Linked DNA regions of Homo sapiens: region 1 is linked to region 2. Evidence: promoter capture Hi-C in 16 types of primary human blood cells and fetal thymus (Javierre and others, 2016). All regions are on one chromosome and are shown on one strand. Each heading gives the region's core, a stretch centred on a gene start or on the middle of the fragment in contact. The rest is flanking DNA. Distances are from core to core; before and after follow the strand shown.

The links. Contacts are between HindIII fragments. The CHiCAGO score rates a contact against its expected background, and 5 or more counts as called.
Region 1: a fragment that was not itself captured here is called in contact with the fragment with the promoter of GNRHR in region 2 in 1 of 17 cell types (neutrophils); the score reaches 5.7 in neutrophils.

What each region holds. Positions count from the first base shown.
Region 1 is chr4:68,373,639-68,380,009 of GRCh38, forward strand. It overlaps the pseudogene MT2P1. Among named protein-coding and RNA genes, the nearest start is that of YTHDC1, 27 kb to the left of the region's middle. The HindIII fragment of the contact is 4,533 bases long and covers 241-4,773 here.
Region 2 is chr4:67,749,475-67,755,807 of GRCh38, forward strand. It overlaps GNRHR (gonadotropin releasing hormone receptor), which reads right to left and starts at 4,914. Exons shown (of 3, transcript NM_000406.3): 1 at 4,340-4,914. The coding sequence starts at 4,861. The HindIII fragment of the contact is 5,914 bases long and covers 4,497-6,333 here.

The sequences.
Region 1 (6,371 bases), core at 1,257-3,756, 620 kb after region 2:
TGGCATGGGTAGTCCTGCGATCCAAAGGCAGCAGTGTCAGGTGGAAGCGCTAGAAGCCCGAGGCTGCCATTGGCAGAACAAAGCAGTCTCGGCCTGGCTTGGCAGCATCCAAAAGGACCGCAGCCGCCCTGCCGCTGCACACGGTGCATCTGATTGGCGGAACCCAAACCCTTCCGCAGCCCTCCCTGCGAAGATATCTGGGAAACGTAGTTTTTACCTTCTAACCTCTAAGGCACGGAAAGCTTATTCGATGTTGATTGTAATGGAAATAGAACTATGTATTAGGATTTGTTTAACCATCCCTTGAGTTTTAAATTTTTTGGTTGTTACGTAATTTTCTCTGTAATAAATAAATAAAATTCCCTAAACAATATGAATACTTTTCAAATTTTTGATAATGATTGCAAAATTGCTCTCTTGAAAAGTTATGCCAGTTTATACTCCTTCCAGCAATCTTTGTTCCATATTGTCAGTCATGATTAATACATTTGTCAATGCTTTTGAAAAGGAAAGTGACATATTATTTAAAAACTATGAATTTCTTTGGCTAGTTTGAAGATTTTAATTCTCACCACAAGTGAATTACGATTAGATTTTTTTTTTTTTTTTTGAGATGGAGTCTCACTCTATCACCCAGGCTGGAGTGCAGTGGCCAATCTCTGCTCACCAGCAACCTCCGCCTCCCGGGTTCAAGAGATTCTCGTGCCTCAGCCTCCAGAGTAGCTGGGATTTGAGGCATACGCCACCACACTAGGCTAATTTTTGTATTTTTAGTAGAGATGGGGTTTTTGTCCTATTGGCCAGGCTGGTCTCGAACTCCCGACCTCAGGTGATTCTCTGGCCTCGGCCTCCCAAATTGCTGGGATTATAGGGGTTAGCCCTCGCGCACGGCCGCAATTAAGTCTTTAGACGATCTGTTTCCCCAGTATTTCCCAGCAATGTATTTATGAATCATCTCGCATCTCGCATGGTGAGAAACTTAACATGAACGTTCAACCATGTAAAATTATTACCAGTGAAATAAATAACTTAATGTCTAGTGACCTCTTACTGTAGCTCTGTATTGGTAGATAGACACTTCTTTTTTGATCTTTCAAGTATATAGTAAAAAAAATGTTCCTTTTACAGTTTTCAATTTTTTTTTTTTTTTTTTTTTTTGAGATGGAGTCTCGATCTGTCTCCCAGGCTGGAGCGCAGTGGCCTGATCTCGGCTCACTGCAACATCCGCCTCCCCGGTTGAAGCGATTCTCCTGCCTCGGCTTCCCAAGGAGCTGGGATTACAGGCATGCATCACCACGCCTGGCTAATTTTTGTATTTTCTTTAAATTAGAGACAGGGTTTCACCATGTTGGCCAGGCTATTCTCGAACTCCTGACCTCAAGTGATCTGCCCGCCTCAGACTCCCAGAGTGCTGGGATTACAGGTGTGAGCCACCGCGCCTGGCTAATTTTTCATGTTTTTAGTAGAGACGGGGTTTCTCCATGTTGGCCAAGCTGGTCTCAAACTACTGACCTCAAGTGATCCACCCGCCTTGGCCTCCCAAAGTGCTGGGATTACAGGCGTAAGCCATCGCGCCCTGCCTTGTTTTCAAAATTAAACTTAGTTGAAGCCTGTAAGACTTAAAATGAAAGCAAGATTATGTGACTTGATTATGATGCAGCCAAATGAATTTAGATGCAAATGCTAGACTTGAAATGTAAGTGTACGAATATACAGCAGTATAATTTTATGAGGTCTGGGGGTTACTTGTGCATGAGCCCAGGATTTAGATATCTGGCTACTCACAGTAAGATCCATGGAAGGAAATAAATTCTATAAGGAAGCACTGTATAACTCAAAGAAACTAGAGAGGCCCAAATGTCCAAAGCTGCCATTTCGCTTGCTGGAATTTGCTGGTGGAATAACTACCCTTCCCCGAATTAATGAGGCTAAATGAATTCCTGGGGAACCCTCAGGCTGTCAGTGTAACACCTCCCACATCTTTTTTCTCCAGCAGGTGGCATGTACAGCACCATCCTGAAATGGTGATAACTTTATTATTATTATTGTCACTATTCATGGGGCTAACCATCTTCCCTTTTCTTCCCAAATAAGTACATGGAGTTTTAGCATAGGTATTAAAGAAGGCTCGTCAGCATGATGGCTTAAGTCTGTAATCCCAGCTACTGGGGAGGCTGAGGTGGGAACCGAGGAGTTCAAGGCTACAGTGAGCTATGATCATGCCACTGCACTATAGCCTGAGTGACAGAAGGAGACCCCGTCTGTAAAAACAATTTAAAGAGAGAAAGAGAAAGATAGAGAGAGAGAGAATTCTTGTTTCAATGACCTAGAGGAAAAAAGATGTTATAAGTTCGCTTTTGAAACTGGAACATTAATTTTTCACCATATTAAGACAAGACCCTGTATATACACGTTAAACTTAAACAGCTATCTTTTAGGCTGTTGAATGCAAGAAGGTAAGTTTAAGTACCATCTAGTGGTAGGCATCACCCTCCACCTAGTGGCATCCCTCTCCATCTAGTGGCAAGATAGGCGAATTGAAAGCAAGTGCCAAAGAAGAAATAGTCTGATACTGAAATGTTGAACAAAAGTTTAAAAAGACAACAGTATTGACCACGCCTCCTCCAAGTCCCAGCGAGCCCGTGTACAACCTGTCCCGACTCCAGCCGCCTCTTCAGCTCGCCATGGATCCCAACTGCTCCTGTGCCGCCAGTGACTCCTGCACCTGCGCCGGCTCCTGCAAGTGCAAAGAGTGCAAATGCACCTCCTGCAAGAAAAGCTGCTGCTCCTGCTGTCCTGTGGGCTGTGCCAAGTGTGCCCAGGGCTGCATCTGCAAAGGGGCGTCGGACAAGTGCAGCTGCTGTGCCTGATGCTGGGACAGCCCTGCCCCCAGATGTAAATAACGCGACCTCTACAAACCTGGATTTTTTATGTACAACCCTGACCCTGACGTTTGCTACATTCCTTTTTCTATGAAATAATGTGAATGATAATAAAACAGCTTTGACTTGAAAAAAAAAAAAAAAAGAGAATAGTATTAAAGTACCAGATAAACTTTACCACTGTTTTATTAAATTTTAATATAAATAAACTATGTAAAATAATTCATGATTGTAGCAGGTTATCTAATTTGGAAATAAAAAGAATACTCTTGCTGGATGGTAAACAGACTATTCCTAGCATGAGGTCTTTTCTTGGAATTATTTTATCTTAGTCCTTACCTAGAAGGACTTAGGAAGTGACAAACAGTGCTAAAAACCTGAGAGAAAAGTTAAGACATAGTGACAGAATTTTGCAGGACAAAAGAGTGATATTAGTACAGTCTTTCTTATGTTAAACCTTTTATGATCTTGAAAATCTTATCTTTAAATCTTAAGAAGCTGTTGGATTATACTTTAATCATTGCAGGGAAAAGATTTAGAAATTATGTTGTCAACCAGTTTAGATCAAATTGACATCAGAATTGGGTCTTTAGGAGGAGATTTTTGGTACAATAACTTTGTAATCTGAGGATACTAATCAGGGTATAATAGTACACTTAATTAGTATGATTAGCTGATAGTCTCAAGTTAGGACGACAGTCATTGAGCCCATATCAGGTAGTTAACAGTGAGCATCTATCTGTTCTAATATGTTCAGCATTCTGTTAGGATTAGTTGGTGTCCATGCTGTCCTTGTTATTAAATCATCTGAATATCATCCAAGACCATAAGGGACTGTATGTTCACAGGAAAAAAATAACAAAATCACAAAATGTGAAGAATGTATGTATTATGAAAAGAAGGTAGGCAAACAGATATCTTTAAAAGAGGAAGCTAAAAAAATAAAAATAAAAGAGGAAGCCAAATGAATGGATCAGATAGAAAAAAATGTTCAAAAGTGTAATAATTGTTTTAAAAGGACTAAAAATATTTTTAGAGACCCAAAGGAGGAAATTAGAAACATGAATCAGAAAAATCAGTTATGAAGGACCAACTGGAGATATTCAGTATGAAAAACCTAATAACTGAAATAACTCAGTAAGTATGGTATTAGATAAACCTTATAGATGTTTTTTAGATACTGCTTTTCAGAGTGAACACACTTGAAATACAAATTAGTGAGCTGAAAGATCAGGTCAATCAACTCTTCTAGAAGGACTCAGGAAGGACAAAGCAGTGCTAAAAAACTGAGAGAAAAGGTAAGATACAGTGACAGAATTTTGCAGGACGAAAGAGTGATATTAGTACAGTCTTTCTTCAGTATCTTCAAGGATTGGTTCAAGGACCCACTGCCTTCATAGTAAAATCCAGGAATGCTCAATTCCCTTATATAAAATGGCCTGTTTGCTCATAATCTACATACATCCTCCTGTATACATTCAATTATCTCTATATTACATATGATACCTAATACAATAGGAATGCTATGTAAATAGTTGTTATGCTGCTTTGGTTTTTATTTGTATTTTTTTAATTGTTAATTTGGTTTTTTCTTGAATATTTTCGGTCCCAGGTTGTTTGAATCTGTAAATGCAGAACCTGAAGATACATAGGGCTGAGTGTATTTGATAGAAAGAGGACAGAGAAATTGTTGAAATAAGAGAAATTTGAAGCTAGGATGCTATATCCAATTAATTCAATGTAAGGCTGAAATAAGTTATTGTAAGGTACACAAGGCCTCAGAAGGCTGACAAAAATTCTGTTTGAAAACACTTTGGGAGGATGTGCTCAAGTAAGACAAGGAATCAATCCAGAAGTTAACCAAGAGATGTGAAAAGTGTGGAACAAGTGAAGCTTTGTAACGTGTTTAGATGAAAAACTGCCAGAGGCATCTTTAATATAAACAGCTTCAGGAAGAGAGACACACTGTATTGCTTTCTTTATCCCAGAGATTTTGGAGCGTATACATAGGTGTCATGCATGTCGTATGTATATGTGCGTATTTGTTGGAGGAACAAAGCCCAACCCCCACCCCCGACAAAATCCCATGAGTTTATTTACACATTGTACATGAGAATTTGCGCTATTTCCTATCTTCAGACGTGATATTTAAAATATATAACAATTAGTACAACATAGGGCACTGACCAATCAGAACAGACACCAGCCAAACTGCTAGAGCAGCTTCCTGGATGCTGTGCCCTTCATGTCCGGATTATGAGTACACCTCTGGTGGGCTGGGGCAGAGGCATGGGGCAGGGTCTCAAAGTGGCTTCTATTTACCATGTATATAGGATTGTTTCAATATTTTAACAACTTGTATGGTCATGTATACTGACTGAATAGCAACTCTGCTATGAGACATAAGACATGTTTGATGACTTCATGCAATTTTCTGAAACATGCTCTTTTTTTTTTTAAAATAAACCTTGGGCAGATGTTATGTTAAGACAGTCTCTGTAGTAAAATAATTTGCCATATTGGAGAGGCTTATCATCTTTACAATGAAAGTCAGAAAATATAAGTAAAACATATTAAGTTGTACTAAAGCAGAGAGAATAATCAAATATAATCTTACTCAAGATATTTTCATGACAACTCAGCTTGCAAGATGTTTTCCTAGGCTTACTGGGTCATAAATATTCGGTATCATTTTTTTTCCTATATTTTAAAGAAAAGGAATTTGGAACATGTAAACTATAAATCTAAGTTTTAAAAAATCTAAACAACAGTTTCCTCTCATTGCAGACCTCATTCAAATTGCAGGCTGGAGCCATGCCCAATATGCCTCTTCAGAGCCACAACTACCCACAGGTAGGTGGGCACTTGGTGAGTGAGGATAAAAAGTTTGTTGTTATAAGTCATTGAGTTGTGCAGTTGTTTGTTACACAGCAAATGACATTCCTTTTTTACTTATTCATCATTCATTCAACGTATTCTAAACATATAACTATGAACTATAAAAACTCAAAACTGGCTTTTCTTTTAAAAGATTGACTAGACAAATTTATGTTAAAACTAATCAGGAAAGGAATGGAGATGCAAATAAACAACAGCACCTATGAAGTTTGCATTCTACTATTGAAACAGAAAATACACAAATAAACTGGGAATCCCAAATGGTTCATAAGCAAACGAAGAGTGACTTACCCTTACTCTGTAATCAGAGAACTGCAAATTAAAACAATTGGAAAGTCTGACAATATCATGCAGTGATGAGGATGTTGGGAAATAAGAGACCTCCCATTCAACTTAAGGGAAAGTAAGCTGTTGCAACCATTCCAGGGAGCAACCTGAAAGTACTTGGTAAATTAACTATCTTTATACTTTCTCAATGATGTAGCAATTACACTTCTAGGTCTCTTGCACATGTCCCTAGGAATATTTTTCACAGCAATGTTTGTGGTAGTAAGAATGGAGAAAGTCTAGATGTCCATTGACAGAGGAATG
Region 2 (6,333 bases), core at 3,664-6,163:
CCATGTGATTTTAAATTAGATACGGGCACATCTAATTTAGGAAATGTCTTCTCTTCAATTTATATTTACCACCCTAACCACAGATGGTCTTAAACCAAAGCTATCCCAGGGTGTTTGCTGCTTTTTCTTTTCCTCCTTCCCTCCTTCGTTTTTCTTTTCTACCTTTCCTCCTTTTTCCTCCCCTTCCCTCCTTTCCCTCCCTCCCTGCCTCCTTTCCTTCGTTCCTTCCTTCTTTCCTTCCTTCCTTCCTTCCGTCTTTCCCCACTTTTATATACGATACCTCCAAGACTTGAATTACTGTGCTCTGACATGTATAATTAGCAGAGTGAGTATGATAGCTTTGTGACCAGGGAGTAGTTTACTAATCAGTCAGAATGCATGCTATAATTTTGAAAAATTTGAAATAATCCACTTTTATATAAGCATTTCTTTTTGCTGTTTCTTAAAGAACCAACAATTCCATACTCATATTTCTGTACTTTTTCTTTCCTGACTTCAAAACCTCTTTTATGAAGGTAAGAAGAAAGGATGGTCTTAGGAAGAAAGGAAAAGAAGAAAAATAAATATTAAATTAGTATTTAAAATTAAGGTGTAAAGTCTTAGATGATTTTATAAATTGTATGACTTATTCTTTACAATTACTCTTTTAAATGTAAGTAATTTGCTCAGAGTCACATAGCTGGTAGGCAGTATTACTGAGATTTGAGCCCAACTCCATTTGAATCTCACACTCATGCCACTTTTACTATCCCATTGGCTTTTGAACTTTGCTGCAAGGAGATAGGAAGTCTTTAGTAACTGTGACTGAGAGCTAGTGAATAACCAAGTGGAGGACTGGTCCTCCTTTCCCTCTATTTTAACCAGAGCAGCTCCACTTATATCTGTTTCATTCATTATGGCTTTTTGTACAGGATTTTTTGTACTGTATTTTATTTAAAAATTTTTAACAGACACATAATAATTGTACATATTTATGGGGTACATTGTGATATAGAATTTTTTAAAAAGAATTCTATTACTAGCATAAAGTTTGAAAGTTTCTATGCCACACTATGCTAAAACTTCTGAGAATGCACTGCCGAATTATCACAGAACATAGCTTCTGAGGTTAATAATGAGGAAAGTGGAAAATCTAGGAGGCCAATTTGAAATTTGGTCATTCTGAGCTGAGGCAAAATGTCATAAATTCCCAGATCCCCAGCCCTGAGTGGTGAAAACATGTTTGTTAAGTGTTTTTTTTTCAACTGAGGTATGAATTACTCAAATAATAGAAAATCGGTATGTGCACCAAAGGATGAAAATTAAAGTTACCCTTTTAATGTAAATTAGGCACAATAGGACGTGCCTTTGTCAATTACATTTTTTATAATTGACCACAGAGCATGGTGAAGCATGAGACACACTCATCATGCATCACAGTCTAGAAATAAAAAGCCCTCTTTCTCTCTCATGTTCCTCATCAAATATATGTAACATTAGTTATGGGATTGAAATTTCTTTTATTCAGAGAAATTGAAGAGAGCCATAATAAAAGGAAAGAATAAGACAACACGAGTCCAACAGAGCACGTGACACTGGGAATGCTAATGAATCCTTTTAAATCAGTGCTTTTTGAACTGCAGGATATGCTCAGCAATGAGTTGTAATCAACAGTAAAAAATAAAATGTAACAGAATAGAATATTTATTTCATCAAAATTTTTTCTCAGTTATATGTGTGAGAGAAAGAGACAGAGACACAAACAAGGTTTCAGTGTAGTGTGTATTTCTTACTTTGGATTATTGCAAAAGGATTTGAATGCCATTGTCTTCATAGGTTTAGACCTTAGCTCTCTTATATATGAAATAGGGATAATAACACAGCTCCTATTTACCTTATAGAGTTAACGTAAATATCAGCATTACTTATGTGAGGTTATTCAGGAAACTTCAGCAAAGTGCTTTAAAGTGTTGTTGAAAGTAAGGATGAGTCATGTGTTTTACAAAATAAAATAACACCATTTTCTGTGGCTCACATTCACATAAATCTCTCTAGTAATGTATTTGAGGTCAGACTATTACATGAAATTCCTAAACAATTCAAAGTTAAGTTCCTATTTTCTTTTTGCTACATCAAGTTAGATAAATATTTGGCATTATCTTTCTATTATTGCTGTTAATACTTAGATGAAAATAATTGGATTGATAAAGCAATATTTTATTTATAGCTTCTAGGAGACTTCTTCTAAGAAGAATCAAATCGTGAGTTTGCCCTTCAGTTATTATTGCAGATAGGATTATTTCTACTTTGGTTTGGATTTTAATCTACATCAGCACCTCAAATTACCAACTACTTTACACATAGTTGTAATTACACAGATCTTATATTGCCAACAGTCATGTCCTAAAGCAAATGATTTTACTTCTCATAGCCTGCCTTCCCTCTCCCTTCTACAAACAAACAGGCAGACAAACAAACACTCCCCTTCCCACCGGATCATTTCAATGGTTTTACTATTTTAATTCCTAGGCTAAAAAAATTGGAACTTTATTTCCCCCTGCTCTATTATTAACTCTCTCAATCCAATTTGTTGTCAGGTTTTGTATTTTATTTGAAATGTCTCTTTTACTATCTATTCTCTTTGATACCACCCTAGCCCCCTGATCACCTCATTGCCAGATGATTTTTAAAAAAGTCTTTGTTTTATTCCACTCCATTTGGGCCATTTGGGCCTACATAAATTTTCCCAAAGCCTTTTTTTTTTCTTTTTTGAGACAGGTTCTCATTCTGTCACCGAGATTGCAGTGCAGTTGCAGTGATGCATCATGGCTCTCTGCAACCTCTGCCTCCCAGGCTCAAGCGATTCTCCCACCTCAGCCTCCCAAGTAGCTGGGACCACAGGTGCGGGTCATCATGACCAGCATTTAAGCAATTTTTTTTTTAATAATTTGTTGATATGGGGCCTCCCTATATTGCCCAGTCTGGTCTCGAACTCCTGGGCTCAAGTGATCCTCCCACCACAACCTCCCTCCCAACCTCCCAGGTAACTTGGACCATAGGTGCAAAAGTGGAAAGAAAGAATGTGGAAAATTTTAAGAGCATAAGCCTTAGCTAAATCACCTCATTTCAGGTGATATATTTGCTAAACTTATTCTTATGTATTGCATCACTGTGAAATAAATCATATATTTTTCTTCAGAAAATGAAAACATTTTAGTTTTTCCCATTATTCTTATTATGAAACACACACATATTCAAAAGAAATATTAAAGTGAGAAATTGATGGGATAAAACAGTTATCCAGCTTTCTAGTGTCTTGTGCTATATAGTGAGTTCTGCATGGCAGTTTTTTTTTGTTGTTGTTGTTTTTTAACCATCTGGTCAGTAAAAAAAAGTCTAGATAAATTTCCATTTTCAGAGGCAAGTTTTGGAGGATCCTAGTTAATTCTGATTTATTTCTTGACACATCCTTGTATCCTGGGTTTATCATGTAGTACATTTAAATGCAAGAGAAAACTTGTTCATCTGCTATTAACATTCTTTGTTATTTTCAAGAATTTGTCCTTTTCTTCGGGGATCTGATTGTTAAAATGGCAGGTTCAGCAGGTCAGTTAACTAGGCTGCTTCTGGTGAAGGCAACCTGGAAAGATAATTGCCCTCTGTGGGGAGGGCCTGTGCCTACTCTGTCAGTCATATGGCTTTCTCAATAAGCTGCCTCCAGCAAAACTCAAGCTAACTTTAGGGAAATATTTGGATTTCCAAACATCCAAGATGTCTTACTTTTCTTCTATATTCAGTCCCACTTAGCTGCAAACTGCAGAGCAACATACTAACAAAGAATAATTCTCTCTAAGCTGCAGTGACAGAATTCTTAAAATTTCCACTGAAGAAACCCTAAATAAGAAACATTATAAATATTTTCTACCTAGGCAAATTTCATAATTCCTAAAAATTATCTCAACTAAACATTAAAGCCATGTCAACCAAAACAAAAAGAAAAACAGATAAAAGAATAGGATGGAGATAAGGTCAAGTTTGAGAATCGCATTTTTTTTGGGGAAGCATTTGCTACATAATAGAGATTATGTGAGCTACTTTATTTATTTATTCATCACAAAAGCAGTATTAAGTAAGCATTAACCCCCATGTTACATTTTATCGGTAAAGGAACTGAAACCAGAGAGGTTAAGAAGTTTGCCCAAGGTAACAGAACAGAGCCAGAATTAAACTTCACTCTCTGACTTCCAGAACCCAAGCTCTTAAAGGTAATACAGTACTTCCTTTGATAAGACCTTATATCAAATTTAGATAGGAAATCTATGATCACCATATCCAAATAAGTTTGTGTATAATGGCTTACCTGTGGTCCTGCAAAGACACTACTGAGGATCCAGGCCAGGCCAACCATGGACTGTCCGACTTTGCTGTTGCTTTTCAAAGCTAGGGGCCTCGTGATAGCCAGGGAGCGGTCCAGGCTGATCACCACCATCATGAAGGCTGGGGCATACATGGAGAAAAGCTTTAGATAACTGAGAACTTTGCAGAGTAACTCTCCAGCATACCATTGGACTGTAATGTTCCACATCCCATCCAGTGGCATGACAATCAGAGTCTCCAACAGGTTGGCTAAGGTCAGATGTTTTAAGAGCAGCTTCATTCTTGAGAGCTTTTTCCCTTTCTCTTTCTTCTGTGTCCACTTCTGAAGTTTCAACAAGAAAGAAGCATTAAAGGTCGCAGAGAGCAGAAAAAGGAAGAAAGTAACCGTCACTCGGATCTTTCCAGACAAGGTCAGAGTGGGGAGGTTGCCCTGCATCAGTGGGATGCTGTTGTTGATGGCTGAACAGTGATTTTGATTCTGTTCAGGAGAGGCACTGTTTGCCATATTTTCCCAGGACAGAGCTTCAAGCCTTGTGTCTCTGGTGCATCTGATATTTTATTGTAACCGAATCTAAAGTCCTGTTTTATTTCTGCCTTCTTTAGATGGAAACGTCACAGGTTTAGACGTATGTCAAATTTTGTCCCTGAGATACTTAATGTGAAAGATCAAGGTTAACTTGTTTTGTGTATTGGTAATCCAACAGAGTGCTAAAACAGAGCAGGCCAAATGCATTCTGAGGGCCACATGTAACTGTAGCACCTCAGCAGATGGTCTGGCTTTCACAACACTCTTCCTAAGTGAAGAAGGATAGTCACAGCCTAATTTTGAATTTAAAAGTCAGTCATGATATTATGATTTAAATAACTTTAAAAAATTTTTCTAAAAACTATTTAGTGTTAGTGTTCTGTCCAACATACAGATGTATAATGATAATGAAGAAAAATGAAAACAACTAGATCCAATTAAAATCCATTGTCTTAAGGAATTAACACATTTCTCAAAAACATTTCTTTGTTTTCCTTTTCAAACACACTGTTGAGCACTCGAACACTGGACAAATATATTCACTTAAAATTATTCTACAACAAATTAAAACTTTAAATTAGAATCAATCCAACTGACTGCATTCAAATTTATTAATCAATCTTACTGATCCAATCCATGCTTAAGTTAGAGTAAAACGGTTAATCAGTTTTTAAATTATTGCCTTGGTTTTTATAATTATCTAAATATTGTAGTTGCTGTTATTACACATTAATGCATAAGGAAACTAGTTATTGAAGAGAATACTGTGTAACTGCTGTAAGTGCATTTATATGTGTTTATGTTAGTATAATATGAATATGTTCTTTTATAGGTTATCTGATCATTTCAAATTGGGACCACTTAGGAACTTTTTCTGTGTTGTTTCTTTAACTTTCATGGTGAGTGCTGGATAGTTATTCATCAATACTGGTAAGACTTACATTGGAATTTATTAAATCACCAGCTTGATTTGTCTAATGCCAACAAGTTTGCTTCTGCAGCAGCCAAAGCAGGTACAATGTTAAGGATAAAAGTGGCTATTTTGACTTAGATGGTGCATTCTTATTGGTTCATTTATTATACTTGTTTATTCTGTCTTAAATATTTATTTATTTAATAAATAGTTACTAAATATTTACTATATACATTATCTTAGCCTTTGCTGGTGATAAAAAGTGAACACAACATCATCCAGCCCCTTTAAGGAGCTTGTTACCACAGAAGGTTAGATAAATGTTTTAGATATATCTTATGTATCTCCTCAGCTTCTCTGTGTACTGGCTGTCTCCTGAATCTTGAGCAGCTTAGACCAGTCCTGTACCTGAGCTCCTTTTTGACTGTCACTATATGTCCAGAATTACCAGCTTCTCTCACTACTTCCAGACTTGAAATATTTATATCCTCTATTTATATAGAGTATCAAGGAAAGAGATTTTCTCACACCTGAGATT